Linked DNA regions of Homo sapiens: regions 1 and 2 are each linked to region 3. Evidence: promoter capture Hi-C in 16 types of primary human blood cells and fetal thymus (Javierre and others, 2016). All regions are on one chromosome and are shown on one strand. The core of a region is centred on a gene start or on the middle of the fragment in contact, and the rest is flanking DNA. Distances in the headings are between cores, read along the strand shown. Region 1 overlaps PIP5K1B (phosphatidylinositol-4-phosphate 5-kinase type 1 beta). Region 2 overlaps PIP5K1B (phosphatidylinositol-4-phosphate 5-kinase type 1 beta). Region 3 holds the start of PIP5K1B (phosphatidylinositol-4-phosphate 5-kinase type 1 beta).

Evidence for each region. Contacts are between HindIII fragments. The CHiCAGO score rates a contact against its expected background, and 5 or more counts as called.
Region 1: a contact is called between a fragment that was not itself captured here and the fragment with the promoter of PIP5K1B in region 3, in 5 of 17 cell types (total B cells, erythroblasts, megakaryocytes and 2 more). The highest score is 10.6, in total B cells.
Region 2: a contact is called between a fragment that was not itself captured here and the fragment with the promoter of PIP5K1B in region 3, in 6 of 17 cell types (erythroblasts, total B cells, naive B cells and 3 more). The highest score is 11.4, in erythroblasts.

The regions. Positions count from the first base shown.
Region 1 is chr9:68,837,115-68,840,952 of GRCh38, reverse strand. The region is part of intron 4 of PIP5K1B (phosphatidylinositol-4-phosphate 5-kinase type 1 beta); the gene reads right to left. Among named protein-coding and RNA genes, the nearest start is that of PABIR1, 59 kb to the right of the region's middle. The HindIII fragment of the contact is 1,506 bases long and covers 1,816-3,321 here.
Region 2 is chr9:68,854,313-68,858,067 of GRCh38, reverse strand. All of the region lies in intron 4 of PIP5K1B (phosphatidylinositol-4-phosphate 5-kinase type 1 beta), which reads right to left. Among named protein-coding and RNA genes, the nearest start is that of PABIR1, 76 kb to the right of the region's middle. The HindIII fragment of the contact is 1,975 bases long and covers 828-2,802 here.
Region 3 is chr9:68,703,276-68,707,234 of GRCh38, reverse strand. It overlaps PIP5K1B (phosphatidylinositol-4-phosphate 5-kinase type 1 beta), which reads right to left and starts at 1,995. Exons shown (of 16, transcript NM_003558.4): 1 at 1,473-1,995. RefSeq lists enhancers at 178-327, 778-867, 1,556-2,481 and a silencer at 1,618-2,137. The HindIII fragment of the contact is 6,803 bases long and covers 233-3,959 here.

The DNA of each region.
Region 1 (3,838 bases), core at 1,319-3,818, 130 kb before region 3:
TGCAGATGCACAGAGGAGGACATTGTGAAATTATATGGTGGCAGACAGAACAATGTCTCCCAAAGATGTCCACATCCTAACCTCTAGAGCCAGCAAATATGTAACCTTAGAAGGCAAAATATAATGTTACTTTACAAGGTTGCAAATACGATCAAGGTTGATGAACAGCTGATCTTGAGTTAGGGAGATTGTCCTAGACTGTCCAGGTGGGCCTAATGTAATAATATGGGTTGTTAAGAGTTAAAAAAAGAAGAGGCAAAGGAGCGGGTGAGTGAGACATAATGTAAGAGGGACTCAATCTGCCATTGTTGGCTTTAAAGGTGAAGGAAGCGGCCATGAGCCAAGAAATGTAAGTGGCCCCTGTGGAAAAGGCTTCTCTCCTAGAGCCTCCATAAGGAACACAGCCACACTGACACCTTGATTTTAGCCCAGCCAGAAGAATACTAAATGTCTGTTCTACAGAACTATAACATAATAAATGTTTTTAAGTCCCTAAGTTTGCAGTAATTTGCGACTGCAGCAATAAGAAACTAATACATATAGCAAGTGTGAAATATTTTCTTTTTTTTTTTTTTGAGATGGAGTTTCATTCCTGTTGCCCAGGCTGGAGTGCAATGGCGCGATCTCAGTTCACTACAACCTCCGCCTCCTGGGTTCAAGCGATTCTCCTGCCTCAGCCTCCCAAGTAGCTGGGATTACAGGCATGCGCCACCATGCCCGGCTAATTTTTGTATTTTTAGTAGAGACGGGGTTTCACCATGTTGGTCAGGCTAGTCTCAAACTCCTGACCTCAGGTGATCTGCCCGCCTTGGCCTCCCAACGTGCTGGGATTACAGGCATGTGCCACTGTGCCGGGCCGTGAAATACTTTCAATACTTTTAGGTCCTGTTTACTTGAGGCACCCGAACATTTTCACTCTTTATCCCACTAGCCCCAAGAGTTGATGCTAATTGGCACTGGGTTGAAATGAAGGAGACTGGCTTGCATCTGTGTGGTCCCAGAAAGTGGTCCTAGAGGACAATTTGTTGAATAAATGAATGGGTGATGAGTTTATAACAAGGAAGAGTACACACTTGGCCATCTGGGTAGAAAATGGTCTTGTCATGACCTCTCTGGAATGGAGACGACCATGGCTGGACCTAACAGGAATACAGCACCCTGGCATTTCTCCTCCTCTTTCTGCAAGACGTCTCCATCTCAGGCTCTGGTTACATCAGGGCTCCCCTAGGCTTGAAGGGCCGGTGGGATGGCAGCACAGTGTCATGTTTTATACACATTCAAGTTAATTTTCCTAAATTCAAACTCTCATGACAGATTTTGATAATTTTCTGTTGTATTCACTTTGCCAAGAACATAGAAAAGGGGGAGAAAATCTCTACTTTTTCCCACAGAGGATTAATCTTCCTAAACCTATAGAGTCATTTGAGTTCCTAATCCACAGGGTGTTTAAGGGAGGGTGGGAAAATATGCAAGATATTATTGCCTTTGCACCAAAGGGAAACCAACTCAGGTTTTCTCGAAAGGAGATGTAACCTTCTCCCCACTCTTTACCTTCTTCTCTTTCCCCGTCCCAAGGCATCCTGCCTGGCCTTCATAAAATGACTGCTGCAAGAGATGATCACAGAATAAAACAAACAAAACCACCACCACCAAGAAATCAAGAGACTTCAATGGCATTTAGCAGTCAACCACACCCCAAATTTTGCAAATGAAGAAGCATAGGCCCAAATATAACATGAAATTACATTAAAATTCTCAATAAAAGGAAAACAGAGATGAAAAAGCACAGACTTTCAGGCAAAAGAAACACAAGCTTTTTCCCCTCTGCCAAAACCAAAATTTCTCAATGATTTCAACAAACTGCCCACCCCAAAATAACTTGCAAAAAGCACTAACTCTTAAGATAATTTCCACACATTACTCTGGTATGGGGAAGTGATCAGTAGACCCATAGGAAGAAATTTTAAGACATTCTCCAAACTATAAGGAAATAAAATGATCCCATTCATCTAAACTGATATAAAATCTGAATTAAATAATATTTTAAGAGAAACATGATTTTATTATTTGCTAGTACTTGGAGTATCTCAAAAAGCTAACTGTGTTTACAATAATTGCCTTTCCATGGTCAGCTTAAATTATATGAAAAAGCCAATATTCAATAAAGATTTTAGTTAATTAATTAAAAAATTTATTTCAAGTTTTATTTTAGATTCAGGGGTACAAGTGCAGGTTTGTTACCAGGTATAATGTGCGATGCTGAGGTTTGGGGTGCAATCAATCCTGTCACCCCATTACTGAGTACAGTATTCAATAGTTTTTTCAACCCTTGCTCCCCTCCCTTCCTCTCCCTTCAATTATGATTTTTAAAAAAGTTTTAGTAAAATTGGAGGCAGAAAAAAACTTTCTTAATGCAGAAAATAATGTTTCAAGCTAAAAGACAACAGTATACTAATGGAAGCACTAGAGTGACACTTCCCAAATGTACGTGACCAAGGGATTTTTATTTATGTATCTATTAATAACTTGTGTGTACAAAGAATGCACTCTTGGAAACAGTACAAGAGGCATTTGTTTTTTAAAACACAAGTAAGACAAGGCTGTGCTGTTATCACAAGAATTCTTTGATACTGTTTTTGAATATCAAATTAATAAGACAAGCCAATTACAAAATATTGGTTAGAAGGAGAAAAATGATAATTTACACATTATATGATTGCTACCTAGAATACCCAAGAATCAGTCATGAACCGAGTAGAATAGTTAAAAAAAAAACAGGTTGTCAGTTTACAAAATAAACTCACATAAATCAAGATCTAACGTATCCCCAGTCAGAAAATGTAATGGAAAAAAAAATCCCATGCGCAAAAGAAAAAAAAAACCTCAAAACATTAATAACAAAAAACCCCACATAAGTTACACAGACATATATTCAACTAAAAATAGGTATAAAATCTATGAAGAAAATAAAAGTTTACTGAGGAGCATAAAAGACAATAAATACATAAACATTTCATTCTTGGAAGGAAAAATACAAGTTTAAAGATGCTTCTTTCTGAATTCATTAATTTAATATAATTTCAACAAAAATCACAATAGAAATTTTTTTAGAGATAGTGACCTTATAATTCTAAAGTTCAATTAGAGGGAAAAAATGTAAAAACATCACTAAGAAATTTTTGAAAATTAAGAATACCATGGGAAGTCTTGCATTACAAATTATTAAAATTAAAGCAAGGCATTACTAGCACAAAATTACAAAATAAGAGCAAAGATAAAAGCCTTAAGGGAACTATTAACAAATTTGACTATATAAAAGCTTGGGTCAAAAAAAAAAAAAAAAAACACAAAGTAAGGAAAAGTAAAAGTCTAATTTAAGAATGGAAAAGCATCTGCAACAAAAATGCAAGGCCCTAAATATATTAGTGCTTACAAATCAGACAGCAAAGGGTATTCATAAATAATAATACACATAAATCAATAAAAATCATCTGAAAAAGTCTAACTTACAATAATAATGCAAATTAAAGTGAAAACTAAGGCATTTTCACCTATCTAGCTGTTAAAACATTTTTAAAGGAGCAGTGCTTAGTACTCTTGAGGACTCGGAAAAACAGGGCTCCCCTAATTAGCGGGGGGACGTCTAAGATGGGATAACCATTTTTAAAGGTAATTTAGTAAAGTGCTAAAATGCACAGAACCCCTTAACTTGGTTTCCTGAGGTCATGGGCCAAGTTCCTTGTGTTCACTGCTGTATCCCTGCCTAACACAAACAGGTGCCCAGATTTATCTACTGAGGGAGAACATGTGGGGAGACAGGCATTCTGAGGCTGGAAAG
Region 2 (3,755 bases), core at 566-3,065, 150 kb before region 3:
CAGGAGGCAAAGGTTGTAGTGACCCAAGATGGCGCCACTGCACTCCAGCCTGGGCAAAAGAGCAAGACTCAGTCTTAACAACAACAACAACAACAACAACAACAACAAAACAGCAAGAGAGTAATTCTTATATGGGTGTATGGGAAGGGAGATGCTGACCAGCCTCCCCATTTATTTATTATTTCTCCTTCATTCCTCTTCGGTAACCACCCCGGTTCTACAACATATGCTGGAGTGCAGTGGTATGATCACAGCTCATTGTAACCTCAAACTCCTGGGCTCAAGCCATCCTCCCACCTCAGCCTCCCAAGTAGCTGTGACTTCAGGTGTATGCTACCATGCCTGGCTAATCTTTTCAATTTTTTGTTGGGATAGGGTCTCATTTTATGGCTCAGGTTGATCTCAAACTCCTGACCTCAAGAGATTCTCCTGCCTCAGCCTCCCAAAATGTTGAGATTACAGGCGTGAGCCGCCACACCTGGTCCACGTTCCTTCATTTCTACAGCTCAAACCCAGCTCCAGGTTCTCCCTCCTCTCCGTGAACCTATACTCAAGAAACAAGTCATAGTCCACTTATTTGTCCCACTGAGAGAATTAAGGAGAAAGAAACAGGGATAGATTCCCACTGAGAGAACTAAGGAAAAAGAGAGAGAGATTGCATGAAACTGGTTGTAGGACTATGGAAATTATACAGTTTGTGGGTAGGCAAACCTCCTCCTCTCTGAGAGGAAGTGGGACCACCTCTTGCTTCTGGGTTCTTCAAATCATTTCTCAAGTTCTTCCTTGTATTAGTTTTCTGTTGCTTCTATAATAAATTACTACAAGCTTAGTGGCTTAAAAAAATGCAAACTTATTATCTTACAGTTCTGGAGGTCAGAAGTCCTAAAATCAGGGTTTTGACAAGGCTGCGTTCCTTCAGAGACTCTGGTGGGGAATCAGTTCCTAGAGTCCACCCGCATTCCTTGTGGCCTCTTCCTCCATCTTCAAAGCCAGCAGAATTGTTAAATCTCTGTCTCCCTCTGACCTCTGCTTCTCTCATCACATCTTCTGTGACTCTGATCTTCTCACTTCGCTTTATATGGACCCATCTGGATAATCTAAGATAATCTCCCTATCTCAAAATCTTTAACTTAATCACACCTGCCAAGTGTGTGAAGTTATTGGCAATGTCTTCTTAATAGGTTCCAGGGATTAGGACATAGATCTCTTTGGGGTCCCATTATTCTGTGGATCACACTCCTCTACTTCAGGATTGACCCTGGCATTTTTTCCCGTGTTGCCCCCAGCAGAGAGAAGAGGTTCCCTCAGAACCCCATTCAGTCAGAGGCTGTTCATTCTGCCAGCAAAGATCTGAGCACTTAGTATGAGCCAGGCATTATTTTAGGCATTGTGCGAAGCATAAGCCGAAAAAGAGACGTGGTTCTTGCTCTCATGGGAGTTTCTAGTCTAGTGGGGGAAAGAGACATTAAACAGACAAAGATACACATGCATAAAGACAAATGAAGTCAGTGACAGAAAGAACAGCGTGAAATAATTGAGGTCAGAAGGGCGGAGACCCACTCAAGAATGATGGAGTCTCAGAGGTCTCTCTGAGGAATGATCTGTAGGCTGAGACCTGAAAAGTGAGAATGGGCCAGTCAACAAGTCGTGTCAACAAAGACTGGCTGTGTCCTTTGTACAAACTGGGGACATAAAGGTGACCTGAACAGAGTCTTGCCCTTAAGGAATTGACATTTTGGATTACTATGTGTGGTGAGGAAAGACAAAGCACATTAGGAAATTAGGGGAGTTGATTTCCAGGGATAGAGAAGCAGTAAGGTTCGGGGACCTGAAAGCAAATCATATGAGTTCATTAGTCGGGTAACAGGGAAAGTGCCAGAACTGGAGGCTGGAAAGACTGGACAGACTGAGATCTGGGTCTTATAGGCCATCCTAATGGTTTGATGTGTTTCAATGAGGGAACAGCATTCTTATTTGAAAAGGTTCACTCTGGCTGCTACTTAGCGTAGCAGGAATTGATTCCCTGCTAGAGCCTCTGAAGGAACGCAGCCTTGTCAACACCTTGATTTTAGAACTTTTGACCTCCAGAACTATAAGATAATAAGTTTGCATTGATTTAAGCCACTGAGCTTGTAGTAATTTGTTATAGAAGCAATAGAAAATTAATACAGGAAAGAACTTGAGAAATGATTTGAAGAACTCAGAAGCAAGAGGTTGTCCCACTTCCTCTCAGAGAGGAGGAGGTTTGCCTACCCACAAACTGTATCATTTCCATAGTCCTACAACCAGTTTCATTGGAGGGATTATAGGCAGGAAAGTGATTGGGGGCAGTTGTAGTGGTTCATATAGAGATACTGATGGCTTAGAGAAGGGTGATGAACGAGAGGATGGGCAGAGGAGGTGGATTTGAGATATATTGGAGGGAGGGAGACAGAATTTGCTGCAAACTAGAAATAAGGGACAGAAAAGTACCAGCAATGCCTCCTGGCATTTTCCTTCAGCAGTTGAGAGGACTGAAGTCACTTTACCAAGCTGAGGAAACTGAAGATGGTACCTATTTTGGAGCAGAGATTCAGAGTTCCATTTGAGATGCTAATGAGACATCCAACTGGAGATGCTAACATACAAGTCTGGAGCTTGGGATAGAGGTTAGAGAGAATATTTCATTTTGAGAGTTGTTAGCATATAAATGATATTGAAAACCAAGGGGTTGAATGAGAAAACCAAGAGAGAGAGGGGAGTATCCAAGGAGAGTCCTAAACCACAACAACATTTAGAAAATAGATGGAAGGAGGAAAAGCTTTGGAGGAGACGTAGGAGTGACTAACACAGTAGAAGAAAATCAGGGAAATATGGCTTCACTGAAACCAAGAAAAGAGAGTTTGAAGAAAGGGGTGACAACCGTCTCCACAAGTAGCTCTTTCATCTGATAATATAAATACTACAACTTGATGGAATATCTAAAGCTATGAGTCAAATTCTCTATATTTTTCTCATTCATATTGTTAATTCATATATAAACCTAAATCTGGATCTAGCATATTTGACAAAATTATTTGATGGACTCGTCAAATTATGCCATCACTTAAATCATATTTTAGAAGTGATCCTTAACTTAGAAAAATAAGATACTATGTTAAGTTTAAAAAGCAGGACACAATACAGATCATAAAATTTAAACAAGAAAAACCAAGTACACGTGTACATATCCACGGAGGAAAATAAGACAGGAAGGAAATATACCAAAATGTACAATTATTTCTGGATAGCGGGATATTAGGTGATTTTTGCTTTCAAGTTTTGTACTTCCCAAGTTTTCTAAATTTTATGTTTTATATATTGGGATGGAAATGTCCTCCAATGAAGGTATTGCTACTATGTTTTAAAATACATTTTGAGGCATGACAAAGGCATGTTTAGGAGTTGCTCATCTTTTTAGCTTTTTCTTTTAGGTCAAGGCCTTAATGCAACAAACCTATGTAATGATTGTGCTTTTATAAAATGTAATCATAACAAGTTTATTTTTGTCTCCCACTGTTCCTCTAAATGTATTCTGGGGTTAGATTTTTCTTCTGCCCCAGCATGAAATATACGGCAGGTCTATGACCCTTCTGGTGGCTTCTGGAATAAAAGGTCCTGTCCAGGTATGGTGGCTTGCACCTGTAATTCCAGCATTTTGAGAGGCCAGGGCAGGAGGATCACCTGGGCCTAGGAGTATGAGATCAGCCTGGGCCGCATAGTAAGACCTTTTCTCT
Region 3 (3,959 bases), core at 746-3,245:
GTGCTTCACAGTTTTCCTTCTCAGGTAAGATGTCATCATACATCAGTCTCAAACTCACCAGCTTTCTCATCAGTCCTCATAAGTCTCTGCCCACAGGACCATATCAGAACCACCGTTTCCCTCCGCTCAGAGATCACACATGAAACTCACTCAACCTCCCACTGGTTTACACTTGGCCGATTAAGGTTTTTTCCCAGCGTCTCCTTTCAGCTGGGAATGCTCTAGCAAAGCTTCCATGAACACTACCCTACTTCATCACATTAGAGTCCTAATGAAACCCATCCTTACTTCATCACATTAGAGTCCTAATGAAACCAATCCTTTCGCCTTTCTCCACTCCAACAGCTGCAGAACGCTTCAGTCTCTTCGCAGAACAGGGGAGAAGTCTCTGGCTGAATGTGCTTCATTAGAGGGACAAAAGGGGTTCCCCAAACCGAGACTCAGAAGTACTGACACAGAGACCGCTTCTTCCTTGCACGAGATTAACACATTCTGAGGTCCTACCGGTCCCTTAAGGATCATTCCCCTTAAAGCTAGGGCCTCCTGCATCTGAGAATGTCACAGAGAGGTAGTGATGATAGTGGGTGTTATTTCTGATCTGTAACACGCTCCCTTTAAAAAAGCATCAGAGTAACTAGGATTGCCTTGTTCGGAGCCCTGATTTCAGTAGATTCGATGAAAGAATTAATCAATCTACCCAAATAACTTCTCCGGAATAGGTTTCTACTCAGCCACGCTGGGCACCAGACAAGAGAGCTGGGGGTTGGGGGGGATAAGAAATGACAACACGCTCATCTGCATAGATGCCAGATAAGCAGACATTTGTTTTCTTCTGTTCTGGCGACTCCTGGCACCGGCATAGTAAATCAAACCCGGGCATTCTCCCTCCCCAGTGCCCCTACACTCCCAGCCCCTGCCCCAGATGTTGAAGCGTCACGTTGACCAGGCTGGGGGAGAAAGCCTGGGAAACGCAGAAGTCTGTTGCTGCATTTAGACTGGAACCATACCGCACCTGTTCAATCCGGCACCAGCGCCAGAAATGAGCAGAACACCAACTCGCAAGCCCCTCTTGAGATACCAGGGCGCCTAACAAGTTCACCGCTGTTTCGTACCGGGGGAGGGTGGTGGGAGACCTTTCCTTCCGCTGCCAAACTCTGCAGGTTCCCCGGAAAAGGGGAGAGTACTCCTATTTAAGTGAACCCAGAGTGATCTCCGAGTGTCACTGCGGCCCCGGGGATCCGGGTGACGAGCGGGTGGGTGTCCGTTGGGAGCGCGCAGCTGTGGCCCCCGCGGAACGAAGGTCCGCTTCGGTGGCCACGGGCGCCCTCTCCACGTCACCCCCAGCACAACGCAGACAGGCAAAGTGGAAGGGTAGAGAGACCGACGGGTTTCAGCAGAGATGCAGAGCCCCTAAGCGCAAGCCCCTCAGAAGGGTCTAGTGGGAAGGGGCCGGGGACGCACAGGAAACTTACCTCACCCGGGCAGCATTCGGGTGCCTCCGCTACCAAGACCAGTTGCGCCACAGTCTGCAAGTTATCGGGACGTTGTCGCTTCCCCACAGCGAAGGGAGAGCAGTGCAGGCGAGGGGCGGGAGGGGCGGGAGGGGCGGGAGGGCGGAGGGGGCGGCGGGCGGGGCCGGGGCCGGGGGCAACGCTGAGGGCGGGCAGGTGCCGGGGCTGGAGCCGCGGGGCCAAACTCGCTCCGGACGCGCCTTGGCGGGGGCGCGCGGCTACGAGTGTGCAGTGCGCGCGCGCCGCGGCGAGTGTGTGTGTCCCCGCTTTCCCCTTCCTTCCCCGCCGGTCCTCCGGCCAGACGGAGCAGCGAGCGGCCGCCAAAGCCCAGCAGCTCCGAGCGGCTCCACTGCCGGGCGCAGCCTCGCCGCGGCGCGTTCGGGGACCGGGAACCGGGGACCGAGAGGAGCAGCAGCGGCGCCCGCCGGGCTCGGGCGCGGGTTCCCGCTTGGTGCGCGCCGGAGTCGGAGCGAGGCGCAGAGAGAGCCGGCTGCGCGGCGGCTGCCGCGGCTGGGGAGGCTGCAGGCCCCGCCTGCCGGCCGCCCAGGCTCTTCCCCTTTTCTCTCCACCCACTTGCCCCATCCCCGCAAGCCCTGCAGCGAAGGCAGACCGGTTTGCAGCACCTGCCGCAACAGCGGCCGGAGCTTCAGCCGCAGTGGGCTGGGCGTCTCAGCCGGTGTGTGGGGACCGGGCGCCTGTCCCGCCGCCGCTGGCCCAGACTGAGAGCGGGGTTGGGGTGGGCCCCTGGAATTGGCGGGTGCCTCCAAGACTCCAGGGGTTCCCGGCCGTTCTCAGCGTCTTGAAGCCCTGCGAAACAGGGCTGTGGGGATAGGGCGTCCCCTTTCCCCAGGCCACAGAACTCAGCTACGCCTGGTCGCCCGCCTGCTAGACTCTGCCTGAGGCGGCGAAGCCGGCACTTGAGCGCAGGCGCCCCCTTCACGAGGAAGGGACAGGCCAGGATTCCAAGGCGTTGGTTGCTCCCATTCTAAGGACAGCAGGTGTTCCCAGCAAGTAAGACCTACCCAACAGGTAGGGGTAGGCTGGCGAGGAGGTCCTAGGAGAGAGAAGCTGGGGGATGTCATGGGAAAGCGCTGTGACGGGGCTGAGGGCCAATTCCTACTGATAGCGCTTAGTGGGCTGGGGGCACTTGCAACGTCACCTGATGTCAGTCTAGCTGCGAAGAGGGTAGGGGTCAGATCTAAAGGACTCCTTTGGGAAAATGCTATCATGAAAGCTAAAGCTAAATTCACTTAATAGGAACCAAAAGGTAGCGGATCCTTCGCGGCTGAATTGAAGCAAATGGTATTTTTCAGCCTCATCACTTCCTTCCACTTACCCTTCTTTACCAAAAACAACGCCGGTGGAAAACGTGGGATACATTCTGTCTGGGGAATAACAACATTTCATGATCCTTATCTTCAGAGATCTCTGGCTTCCAGTTTCTGTTTGAAGGATACTCCCTTAGTTCTCTGCAAATGAACACCTCTTTTCAGTTTTGTAATCTCTTTGTTTCTCTCACCCCCCACCTTGAGTGAGTCTGCTATGGTTTAATATCAGCCTTGAATCAAGTGCAATAATTTCTTGATAACAGAAGTATCTATTTTTTTTTAGCTTTACTGAGCCATAATTGACAAATAAAACAAATATCTGTTATTCTTCAGCTGTTTTCCCAGCCTGCTTCTTGCAGATGTGGCTGGCCATTACTGAGAGATTTAAGGTATGGTTTGTTTAGAACCCTGTGACTTGGGTCTGGTTTTCTCCTGGCATCCTAGACGCTTCACAGCTCAGAGCAGGAGGAACATACATCTAGTCCAGCCCTCCCGCTTTACAGATGAGGAAACTAAGGTCTCAAGACATTAAGTAACCCAAGGACCAGAACACAGTTTCCCTGACTCTCAATCCCTGAACAATAACTAGCAGAAATATTGTATTAACAAAGTTCAAGATGGGGTGGATAGACCAGTGGTGGAGGACAGAAGAACCGATCAAAGAACCGTTCATCTGACTGGTACGAATCACTGTATAGGGGGCAGCATCATACCGCTGTAACTAGCAGGCTAGTTTGGAATCTGGGAATGGTAATCCCAGTCTCTCCTTTTCCTGCTTCTCAGACTTCAGCTATGAAATCCAGAGTGGAAAATGAATTTGCCTCCCAGGGAGGCGGTGGTAAGTGAAAGTGCAAAGTCAGTTTCTGGTAATGCAGGGGAGATGAAGACAGGTAAAGCCAAACATTGGATCAAAAGTGATCACGCATTACGTATAAATGTCCAAATACATGTATCCATACACATGACCCTTTTCCCATTAATGAGCCTGGTATTGAGCCACTTCTGTAAAGCCCAAAAGCAAACAGCCTTAGGTTTTCAGAGAGAAGTGTCCAACCAGACTGCCCACTGGCTATTTAGAGAGCTAACTTTATGAAGCAGGATTCTAAGGAACTCTACCAAG